Linked DNA regions of Homo sapiens: region 1 is linked to region 2. Evidence: promoter capture Hi-C in human tissues and cell types (Jung and others, 2019). All regions are on one chromosome and are shown on one strand. The core of a region is centred on a gene start or on the middle of the fragment in contact, and the rest is flanking DNA. Distances in the headings are between cores, read along the strand shown. Region 1 overlaps NTNG2 (netrin G2). Region 2 holds the start of POMT1 (protein O-mannosyltransferase 1).

Evidence for each region. The method cuts DNA at HindIII sites, captures the fragments that hold promoters and counts their contacts. A contact is called where the count stands out against the background at its distance.
Region 1: a fragment that was not itself captured here is called in contact with the fragment with the promoter of POMT1 in region 2 in 2 of the 25 tissues and cell types used here (IMR-90 fibroblasts and lymphoblastoid cells).

The regions. Positions count from the first base shown.
Region 1 is chr9:132,232,071-132,237,566 of GRCh38, reverse strand. The region is part of intron 5 of NTNG2 (netrin G2); the gene reads right to left. Among named protein-coding and RNA genes, the nearest start is that of NTNG2, 73 kb to the right of the region's middle. The HindIII fragment of the contact is 6,849 bases long and covers 1-5,496 here.
Region 2 is chr9:131,499,693-131,505,050 of GRCh38, reverse strand. POMT1 (protein O-mannosyltransferase 1) reads right to left here and starts at 2,133. Exons shown (of 20, transcript NM_001077365.2): 1 at 1,978-2,133; 2 at 711-862. The coding sequence starts at 832. It overlaps PRRC2B (proline rich coiled-coil 2B), which reads right to left. Exons shown (of 32, transcript NM_013318.4): 32 at 4,858-5,358. It also overlaps the pseudogene LOC124902290. RefSeq lists enhancers at 543-612, 623-702, 1,183-1,242, 614-1,479, 1,480-2,347 and 1 more and silencers at 1,813-1,962, 2,033-2,232. The HindIII fragment of the contact is 15,044 bases long and covers 1-4,588 here.

The DNA of each region.
Region 1 (5,496 bases), core at 1,224-3,723, 730 kb before region 2:
AGGTGTCAGGGAGGGCTGATGGGGCCCCAGGTCCATCCTCTTACCTTGGAATTCTTCAATAGGCATCACTTGAGGAGATTTGGGCTTGAGCTGGAAAAGTTTGTAGCCCTTGGCAGGGGCAGGGGCAGCGGCAGGGGTGCCCACAGCTTGGAGAGATGAGAAACAGGTTCTTTCGTCTGTCATGGTCCCACTGCCCAGGGAAGAGCCCAGCAAAGGCTTCCGAGCCGCCCTGGGCCAGCTCTAGGGCAGGCAGCCTTGTCGCCTGCTCAGATGTGAGGGAGGGAGAGGCCCCTCTGGCCTCAAATCACACAGCCCCTCTCCTCGAAGAGCCCAGGGAGGTGGGGCCCCTTCCTGAAGGAAACACAGCACATCCCAAGCTTGCAAATCAGCCCTGCCCTTGGTCCCCTCTCTGAGACCATGGACACATCTGGCTGGATTAATCCTCCAAATGACTTCTGTAACCCCTGACACCCCCGCGCCCTGCTAAGACCTTCTTGGAAGCCAAACTGTTTTTAGATAGATTGACATCACATTGCACACCACGCCCGTCTCTTGCTCTCCCCACCGCCTCTCCAAACTTCCTGGAGCATCAAACCCAGAGACTAAACTTGGCATTTAAGGACTTTGGCATCTCCCTTCCTTTCTGAAACACTCTTCCTGCTCCAGCCGAAGTGAATCCTTCGCTGTCCCTGGAGTCCCACTCGCAAGTGCTGTCAAGCCAGGAACACGGACGGCACCTGCCTTCCACTGCCCAGAATCCCGCTGGGACCCCAACGCCCTATCTGTGGGTGAGCAGGCCACTGTCCCGGGATCGTCACTACCTTGGCTTCCCTCTGGGGGTCTGTGGTGCCCTGGTTGGCCCAGGGTAGGGAAGCGATGGCTCCCGCCAGCTCTGTCTCCATCACCACAGAGGACACCAGGCCCAGGTCCTCCAGGTTTCTAGGAACCGAGCCTCAGACCCTCTCTAAACATGCTTCCAGCGCCAGAGCTTCCTGCCAGTAGAGGGCGCTCAAAGCCCTGCTCGCTGCTCAGAGCTGGGGCTGGAGGAAATTTGAACATGTGAGCTGGAAGGAACAGCTCACCTGTTCCCTAGACCTCAGGCCCTAATTCCCCACCCAGGCTTGGTGAGCTGGGGCCAGGGACAATTTCCCTTCTGGAGAGTCGGGCAGGCCTGCGCGTTTCCTTGGCATGTCTGTCTATGGCTACAGATGAGCCCTGTGTCTCCTCCCACGTAGCAGGAGGATGTCAGTGTCTTCCAGGACCCCGCCCTCCCTCCTTTAACCCACACATTTTCCACTTTGTCAGGCTCCCTGCCATCCCACTGCCAAGCCTTTGCCCCGGCTGGCCCTGCGGCCTGGAATGTGCTGCCTTCTCCCTTCACCCACCACAGTCCACCCTCCGAGGTCTCATGGCCCCCGCTCCTGCAGGAAGCCCCCTCTGACTCTCTGATCCAGCAACTGCCCAGGTGTCCTGTGAGCAAGGGCAGCTGGAGAGGGGGGTTCCTGTCGTGGGAGGCGGGGCCTCTACCAGACTCCGAAGCCCTCGGAGGGAGTGCTGGTGGAAGGGCTTGGCGTGGGGGTGCCACATGGAACCTCTTGAAGCAGGTGAGCTTGGGGGCAGAGCTGGTAGACCTGCTCTACCAGGCCGCTCCCTCACCACTGTGCCCTAGAGCTCCCCAGGCACCGACATTCTACACCCGTGCCCTCAGTTGGTTCCTGCGGCCCCCCTCCAACCTCAGGTCCCCACCATGCACACCTGCTACTTCCACTACAGAGGGAGGGGCCTACGAGTCTAAGAGGGCGCTTCCCCGGGGTCTCAGGCCCATCACAGGCCTTGCCCCCCCATACCTTCTGCACGGGAGGCCACCTGGGACCACCTGCTCGAGAGAGGGGCAGCCGTAGATGGCCTGGTCCACTCTTGGGGGGAAGAAGAGAAGAAACCAAGTTATGCGAGGGGGTGGTGCTGAGGGAAGCTGGGTACATACTGAGGCATCACAGCCCCGCACCCCACAGGCCCCTTAGAAGCAGCAGCACTATAAGGAGAGGCTCTGTCTACACTGGCCAAAGGAATTGGGTCCAAATCTACTACATAGGCAGCATCTACACTATTTCAGCCTGTGGAGGGCACATGCAGACTTAAAGCCCGATAGATGAGAGGTGAACCCATGCCTGAGAATCTGCATATTCTTCAGCGAGACCCTTCTACACTCCCTGTGCCGTCCCCGTTCTGACTGAAGGACAGAGCTAGACCAGGTCCCGCCTCTGGGCCCAGACCTCTCTGAGCTGATGTCTCTGGCTAATGGCTGCGAAGTGGGACATGTGTTCCGGCCAAGATCTTACATGTGTCCAGAAGTGTCCTGGAAGGTGTCCTTCCTGTCCAGCCGCAATCCAGGGACCGGAGCCTTCCCCAGCATCTGACCTGCTTCCCTGATCACTGCCCTTCTACCTTCCTGACCCCTGGCCTGGCCCATTTTCACCAGGGACCCCAGCATGAACCAGTGACACAACGCTCAGCCCGTAGACTAACGGGACACACAGCCAGCAAGGCAGGCAGGCAGGGCTGGCAAAGAACTGCCCTGTGCCCAAATTTCAAAGGACAAACCCAGAGGGACAGGGGAGCGCTGCTGTTTTCCGCTTCTTGAAGGGATTATACACAACGGTGGCTGTGGGGAAAGAAAAGGAAAAGCTACCAGCTAACAAGTGCGGAAGACTTTCCAGCTGGGAGCGGGGAGCTTTGGACATGAATTGACTTTAATATGATGTTCAGTGGGAAGATGAGGCCGCCAGGCCCAAATTGGCAAGGGCTTAATTAGAGCCATGAGAAAGCCAGCCCTGAAGGCATTTGCTTCAGAGCCTGTCTCCCTCCATCCTCCGTGGCCCAGCCCAGGAAAGGATTAGTGTCTCCAGCGGCGTTTTCCGCCCGCAGCGCTGTCCTCCAGACAGCTTGACATTGGCAGGCGGGAGAAACATCTGGCCCAGGAGTTCAGAGGCCCAGCTGGACTCTGTTCAAAGAGCCCGAAGCACCTGTTGGGAGGCACTCGGGGGTATTCAGGATCTTTCAGGGACCAGGGTCTTGGGGAGGGAGAGAGTCCTGGCTTGGCTGCCCAGGGACACACTCAGGTGTGTGGGAAGCAAGTTCTCGCCATGGCCTGTGTGCTGTGCCAAGGCCCCATGGAAGCCCGGTCTGCTCCTTTGGAACTGGGAAGCCCTGCAAGCCAGGCCTTGGAGACAGCACTACTTGGCCGGGTGCGGTGGCTCACGCCTGGAATCCCAGCACTTTGGGAGGCTGAGGCGGGTGGATCACTTGAGGTCAGGAGTTCAACACCAGCCTGACCAACATGGTGAAACCCTGTCTCTCTAAAAAGACAAAAAGTAGCTGAACATGGTGACAGGTGCCTGTAATCCCAGCTACTCGGGAGGCTGAGGCAGGAGAATTGCTTGAACCTGGGGGGGCGGAGGTTGCAGTGAGCTGAGATTGCTCCATTGCACTCCAGCCTCAGCGACAAGAGCGAAACTCCATCTCAAAAAAAAAAAAAAAAAAGATAGCTCTACCTCATAGCCCCTGGAGGCCTCAGGACAATAGCTTTGGGTGGCTGAGTTGGCGAGCCCTGAGTTCAAATCCTGCCCGTGCCTCTCCATAATTCTGAGACCTTGAGCAGCTGCCCCTTTTTTCTTCTGAAACAGCTTGATTGAGGTGTAATTTACATATCATAAAATCCAGCTGCTTCTTCCTAAGCCTCGATCCCCTCACCTGTGGGACTAGGAAAATAACAGCCTCCATCTCACGGAGCTGTGAGCCCAGAATACAATGATATGATGATACAATGATACGAGCACAGCCCAGGAGAACTCACCCTCAGCTACTGCAATGATCGTTTTCATTAATGGGGGCTCTGGACAGGGGCTTCAGTTGCTGAAGAGGAGGGAGGAGCCCCTAGATGTGGGCTGTAGGGGCCACTGGCTGTCACATTGGAGCCACCTCCTCCCCTAATGTCCTGCTTCTTGATACAGGGCTGAGGGTGCAGAGCAGCACTGTCTTGCCGAGAGGGAGGGTGTGCCTTCTGCTCACTGAGGGGGTCCTGGGGACCCTCACCTCCCCTGCATTTCCCACTCTGGCCTCTGACTTTTCCTCTTTAATTCCCAACTTTGCACAATCTGCCCAGCCTCCCACGGCTGCCCTGGCACCAAGTCAGAAGCAGCTCTGCAAATGGATTCCTCTGTGTGTGTGTGTGTGTACATGTGCGTGTGCATGCCTGTGTGTGTGCATGCATGTGTGTGTGTGCATGTGTGCACTTGCACATGTGATATGGAGAGTATCTGGCCTCCCAGCCAAACCCCTGTTTGGAGACAGGCACAGCACCCACCACCACTGTTTTTGCTTCTGTCTGCCCACCACAGGCTCAGCAGCAAAGCACAGGTCCCTTGTGGCTGGGCCAACCTATGTCTGAAGTCCAGAATTCTCAGAGTGACCCATGTCTTCCACCCCAAAGAGGATTCCTGGGTCAGGAGGCTTCCCGGAAATCCTCCAATCTTTTGGCTAGCCCCTGCCTCCTGTAAATGCCTCCTGCAGAAAAGGAAGGATGTAGAAAGAGGTGGGGTGTGCTGCCCCCAGGGGAGCTGCTCTGGATGGCCTAGGAAGGAGGAGGTCTTTCTCTCAGCATTTGCCCCTGTCTGGGGAGCCTGAGTGTCCACCCAGCAACAGGCCGAGGCAGGAGCTGATGGAGGGGACTCTGCCCTTTAGAAATGCCACCCCCCAAGGGGGAAGGATCAGTGGGGCAGGTCTCCTTGGATCAGAGAGATGGAGGGCCAGGGCACTACCCAAGGGGCCAGGAGTCCCCACCAGGTCCTCCCTGCAGGGTGGCGGGGGACAGGGTGTGGCAGGCTATTGGAGCACCCCTCCCTGGCTGGGACCAGGAAGAATTCCCCTTGGTCATCGTCTTCCTGGTGCCCTCTGGGAAGGATAAATCCTTTCAGACCCCTGGCACCTGCACTGCACAGAGTGCAGGGATACTCCCCAGGTGAGTCCAGGTGAGAGCAGAGGCCCACTCCAGCACCCCCAGCCTTGAATACACGTGAATCCCTCCGTTGGAGGGGAGCGAGAATCAGGTTTCCATGCCTGTCTGTGGCAGACCCCTGAGGGGGCAGGACGTCTGGCCCTGGCCTGGCCTTGCACTACACACACAGCCTCCACATTCCCAGCAGCCCACGGTGTCCAAACTCAGCTCCAGAGGCTCCCTTTGCCCTGCTGATCAGAGACATTTGCTTTCTGGGCTAACCCTGCTCCATCCATCCCACCGGTGTGCTGCTGAGGGGCTAAGGACAGAGAGGCCCTGGGGGCCAGGTGGGGACAGGGTGTGGGCGGGGCTCCAGGGACCACGGAGGCAGAAGCACCATTGGGAGATAAGGCCAGTCTTTGGCTGCATGTCAGGATGGCCTCGCTGCCCCCAGCACCTTTCCTCTCAGTTCCTGCAGCCGTCTGGCCACAATGGTCTGGGAG
Region 2 (5,358 bases), core at 884-3,383:
TAATCCTAACACTTTGGGAGACCCAGGTGGGTGGATCATGAGGTCAGGAGTTCAATACCAGCCTGGCCAAGATGGTGAAATCCCGTCTCTACTAAAAATACAAAAATTAGCTGGGTGTGGTGGCGGGCACCTGTAATCTCAGCTACTCGGGAGGCTGAGGCAGAGAATTGCTTGAACCCAGGAGGCAGAGGTTGCAGTGAGCCGAGATGGCACCACTGCACTCCAACCTGGGCGACACAGCAAGACTCCGTCTCAAAAACACACACACACACACACACACACACACACACACACATACACACATTAATCAGTTAATAAAGAGCCCTTCAATAATAACAGCAATCACTTCCCATTATGACAAAAACACATTCTAAAAAGTGCTCTCAACAGTGAAGACTTACTTCCAAATCCATTAATCCTCTGCCGTCCAGACTTTAAAACTGTTACTTAAGGCTGGCAACCAGATTTTCCTCTACTGCACCCCTTTAATGGGCCAAATTTCACCTGTTACAGACTCAGAAGGCAAGACCTAAAAGGTGTACTCTGCTGGGGCTGTCCTGGGGACAGACTGGTCTCTCCTCTCACTGCCAAAAACACCTATCACCAAGAAGCCAGGATTTCACTCTCCCATTTATGCTATTCAGTAAGGGCGCCTCCTGTCACAAAGTACAATTCTAGATTCACCCTGGGAATGGAGTCATTTAGCTTACACCACAGCCCGCGGGTAGGTGAGTCGCCACAGCCGGCTCAGTAACCCCATCCCAGTCAGGGCCACAAGGCTCAAGTTGATGTCAGCCGTCACCACTACAGGGCGCTTCAAAAATCCCCACATCTTGTAGAAAAGCGGGCTCAGGCAGACGCCCTAGAAAAGAAGGGAGGAGCCGTGGTCCATGAGGGCTCACGAGAGGCTACAGAAGGGATCCCCAGCCACCCGGCTCCCGGACACACGAGGAGAACCACAGCACAGCCGGGCTGCTGAGAAAGACCGAAGTTCCTGGAGCCTTGGTTCAGGTAGACATGTGGGGTGAGGGGCACTAGCAGTGAACTCGGGTGGGAATTCAGGGGATCTCAGGACTGGACATTCACTCCTTTCAACAACTCATTCCACAAAACCTGCCGAGCACGTCTTGGGCGCGAGAACACTGCTAAGGAACGCCAGGGTTTCTCCCCTCCCTCCCCGACGACCAGAAGCCCACAGTGCGGCCACAGCTACCTGACCCTGGGCAGCTCCTGGGTGCCATCTCAGCTGCTTACAGCCCAGGGACCCCAACCTGGCCGAGCCTCGGGGCCTCCTCATCTCTCCTCAAGGATGCATCTGCCCCCAGTGCCTCCCTGCCTTCTATCCCAGCGGCACATCATCCCCGGGTGCTCCCTTTCTCGCCTGGAGGGTGCATTTGCACCCTGCGCCCCCACGTTCTCCTCCAGGCTTCATCTTCCCTTGAGCTCCGCTTCTCTTGAGGCTGCATCAGGCCTGGGACACCCTGTCTCACACCAAAGCCGCATCTGGCCGTTGGCGCCCCGCTGGTCTCCTCAGGCCCCATCTACCCTGGACGCGCCCTTCCCTCCCTGAGCTGCATCTGCCTTGAGCGCCTTCGTCCCAAAAGGTCCCATCTGTCCTGGGAGTGCCTCCTCTCCCCTTGCAGACCGCATCTCCCTGGCCGGCCCTTCTTCCCCACAGGCCGCACCTGTCCCGTCCACCAACTCCCGAGGCTGCGTCGGCCCCAGCTCCGTCCTCACCCTGAGACTGCACCCGCAGCACGCCCTTCCTCCCTAGGGCTGCACGCGCCACGGAGTTCTTACTTCGGGGCTCGGCCGCCCGAACGCCGCATCTGCCCGGGCCCGAACCCCGCCCCCAGCTCCGGAAAGACGGGGACGCCCCCGGCCCCAGCCCGTCCGCAAGCCAGGGACCCGCGTCCGGCACTGACGGACTCCCCCAAGTCCGGGCTGGGCTCTCGTCCCCGGTGTCCCCAAATGTACCCGCGTTTCTCCGAGTCCACACAGAGCCGCGCCCGGCTCCCGGCAACGCCTCGGAACCGTCCGACTGGGCCGACGGTTGGGGGTGAGGCCGCTCGGCACTCCGCACCACCCACCGCCCTGCTCAACGTTCGATTCACCGAGCCTGCGGGGCCAGACGGGCAGCAGCGCGCGTGCGCACTGGGAGAGGGTGACGCGCGTGCGCAGCGGGCGAGGGCGCCGGTCCCGGAGGAGAGGCAGGTGTGAAACGCGGCGACCTCCCCTCTCTCGGGTGCTACTGTTTTGTGTGCCAGGATTTCTGTGTACTCTAAGCAGACGTGCAGATTTTAAAAAGCGCAGTGGGCTCCCACCCATCTTCTGCTCCTTGCTTTTTCACTCCATCTGGCGTGAAGATCTTAATTCTGCGTCTGCACAACGGCGTTCTGCCGGGCGCGCCAGTTTGCTCCTAGTTTTTTTCTTTTCTTTTCTTTTCTTTTTTTTTGAGACGGAGTTTCGCTCTTGTTGCCCAGGCTGGAGTGCAATGGCGCGATCTCGGCTCACCGCAACCTCCGCTTCCCGGGTTCAAGCGATTCTCCTGCCTCAGCCTCCCGAGTAGCTGAGATTGAAGGCGCACGCCACCACGCCCGGTTAATTTTTGTATTTGTAGTAGAGACAGGGTTTCACCATGTTGGCCAGGCTGGTCTCGAACTCCTGACCTGAAGTGATCCGCCCACCTCGGCCTCCCAAAGTGCTGGGATTACAGGCGTGAGCCACTGCGTCCGACCTTAATTTTTTTTTTAAGACACGGGGTCTCGCTCTGTCGCCCAGGCTGGAGTACAGTGGCAGGACCACGGCTTGCTGCAGCCTCGACCTCTCTGCCCGAAGCGATCCTCCCTCCTCGGCCTCCAGAGCAGCTGAGACCACAGGCACGTGCCCCCACGCCCGCGGGCGCTCCTAGTTTCCTTGCCGAAAAACATCGATGCCACGATCCTGCTTGCACATACATCTAGCGGTGAAGTGGCTGAGGGTAAGGGCATTTAAAACGGACCTAGGGCCGGGGGCGGTGGCTCACGCCTGTAACCCCAGCACTTTGGGTGGCCGAGGTGGGAGGATCCGTGAGCCCGCTTGAGTCCAGGAGAGCCTGGGCAACACAGCGAGACCCCGTCTCTACAAAAAAATACAAAAATTAGCGGGGCCCCTTGGCGTCTGCCTGCAGTCCCAGCTACAAGGGAGGCTGAGGCAGGAGATCACTTGGGGCAGAGAGGTCGAGGCTGCAGTGAGCCTTGGTCTCACCACTGCACTCCAGCCTGGACTACAAAGTGAGACCGTCTCAAAACAAAAAACAAAACCAAAAAAACCTGGACATCAGTGGGGGCTGCATGACCATCAGAGGCTCCAGTGGGGGCATCTCCCCTAAACTCCGTGGCAGAAGACTGGAGGCTTCTTCCTCCATTCCCAGGGCTCCTCCTCATCCATCAGCCTCTCCAGCCCCCTCTGCTGAGGGTCAAGAGCCTTCCCAAAGGCCTGCTTTGGAGCAGACATGGTACTTTTGGTTGGGTCAATGCACCCCTTCCCATGTTTTCCCTGAACAGTCGGCACCCAGAGCAGGGTAACTGACAGCAACGCAACCAGGCTGATGGATCACTCTTCTCAGCCTCGCTCCTTCTTGATCTCCTGGTCTATTTGTATGTTAATCTATACAGACCAAAAGGGCACACTGCAGGTTTAATAACCTTCATTATGGTTCTTGGCTGCCTGCAAGACTTTTTTTCCATGTTGGGCAACATAGCATTAGATGACACCAGTTAGAATTTCGTGGTTACTTCTTTATGGCTTACCCTTGAGGGGTTATGTGACTCACCCAAGATCCCACAGAGAGGCAAGGAGCTGGGGCTCACCTGGGTTTGTGGCCAGAGCCTGCAGGCAACTGTATTTACAGTGGGCAGGGAGGGTTCCCTGGGCCCCAGGAGGGAGTGGGGCTGGGCTGTTAAGCTTTGGTTCATGCCATGCTAACAGTGGTGGTGCCTCAGGACTTACAGCCTCCATCTTGCAAGCCCCCAACCTTAGGACTAGCCTCTTTCAGGGCTGGTCTCCGTTTGAGATTTTGTGAGCCACCTGTCCCTAGGGAGCAGTAAATCAGGGCAGTGAGTGTGGCTAGTTAAAGCTGAGATGCCCATGGCCAGGTCCCCAACTCTCTTCCATAGTCAAAAGGCTTAGAAGGAAGTTGAGGGACTGGGGTTCCTCATGGAAACAGCGTTTTATTTCTTGGGGGTAATTTATAAGTTTTCTTAGCTGGTTCTAGGCACTAAGCTAAAAGCTACTGGTGACTTTGAATCCACACTACGCCATGAGGTCGATACCATTACAATCTGTGTTTTATGATTAAGGAGACTGACTCAGGTGGTGAAACGTCTTTCCCCAGGTCAGTGAGGCAATGGCAAAACCGAGAACTGCTGCCTCAGCCCATTCTTACCTTTTACCCTTCGCTACCCCAGGCCTGGCTTGCTCCCTCCCCACCCCAAAGCACAGCATAATCCTCCTCCACTTCCTGCAAAAGCACCGCTAGAAGTGACAACACAACACGCCACATCAAATGCTTACCTCCTCTGACCAGCTCGTTTCTCACGGCAAGTGACGGGGCCACAGGCAGGCACTGTGCACAACCAGATGCCATCCGTGGGAAGAGGGTGGAGTGCTTGATGCTGCCGCATTTGGAAGATGCTTCTTAGCCACGGGTTTCAATCCCTTCTCTACCCACACAGCTTCTGTTAAGGCATTTCAGCCGTGCCACTCCTAATTTCCGTGTGAACTCTGTAAAATTAGAATTCTTTGATCTGTAGGTCTCTCTGGTCAAATGACCAAGAAACGAGGGATGTACAACCTGAGAAAGCACGTTCAGCTTTATCTTTTTAAACTTTTTTTATTTAAATAAGGAGAATTCTTTCATATGGAAAGAGCTAGTACAATCACATATTTGAAAGGAGAAACAATAGGTACTGAACCGGAGGGAAAGGGCGAGGGTGAGTGTGCCAGCACCGGCCTGGTGAATCCACGATTCGATTTCCCATCCAAGGTAAGTTTCCCAAAATACCGTATAAACAAGCTGCACATTACACCTCTAGCCATCGTCTGCCCTTTCAAATATCTGGTCTACATGGAAAGACAAAGAGGAAAGGCCAAAACATAAACAAAAGGAAACAAAAACAAAACACAACCCTCTCAGGAACCAAACAAAACCCCCAAATCCTTTTTTACTACACAAGGCATGAGGTCAAAAGCTTGAGTACAGTGTCCCCTTTAGATCACGGGAGAAAGGCGTCCACACAGAGCCTTAGCAGGAATTTCCACTCTGAGGCTTCAGAACATGCTGAAGATGGGGCTCTGAGGGTGCCACTACCATCCTGG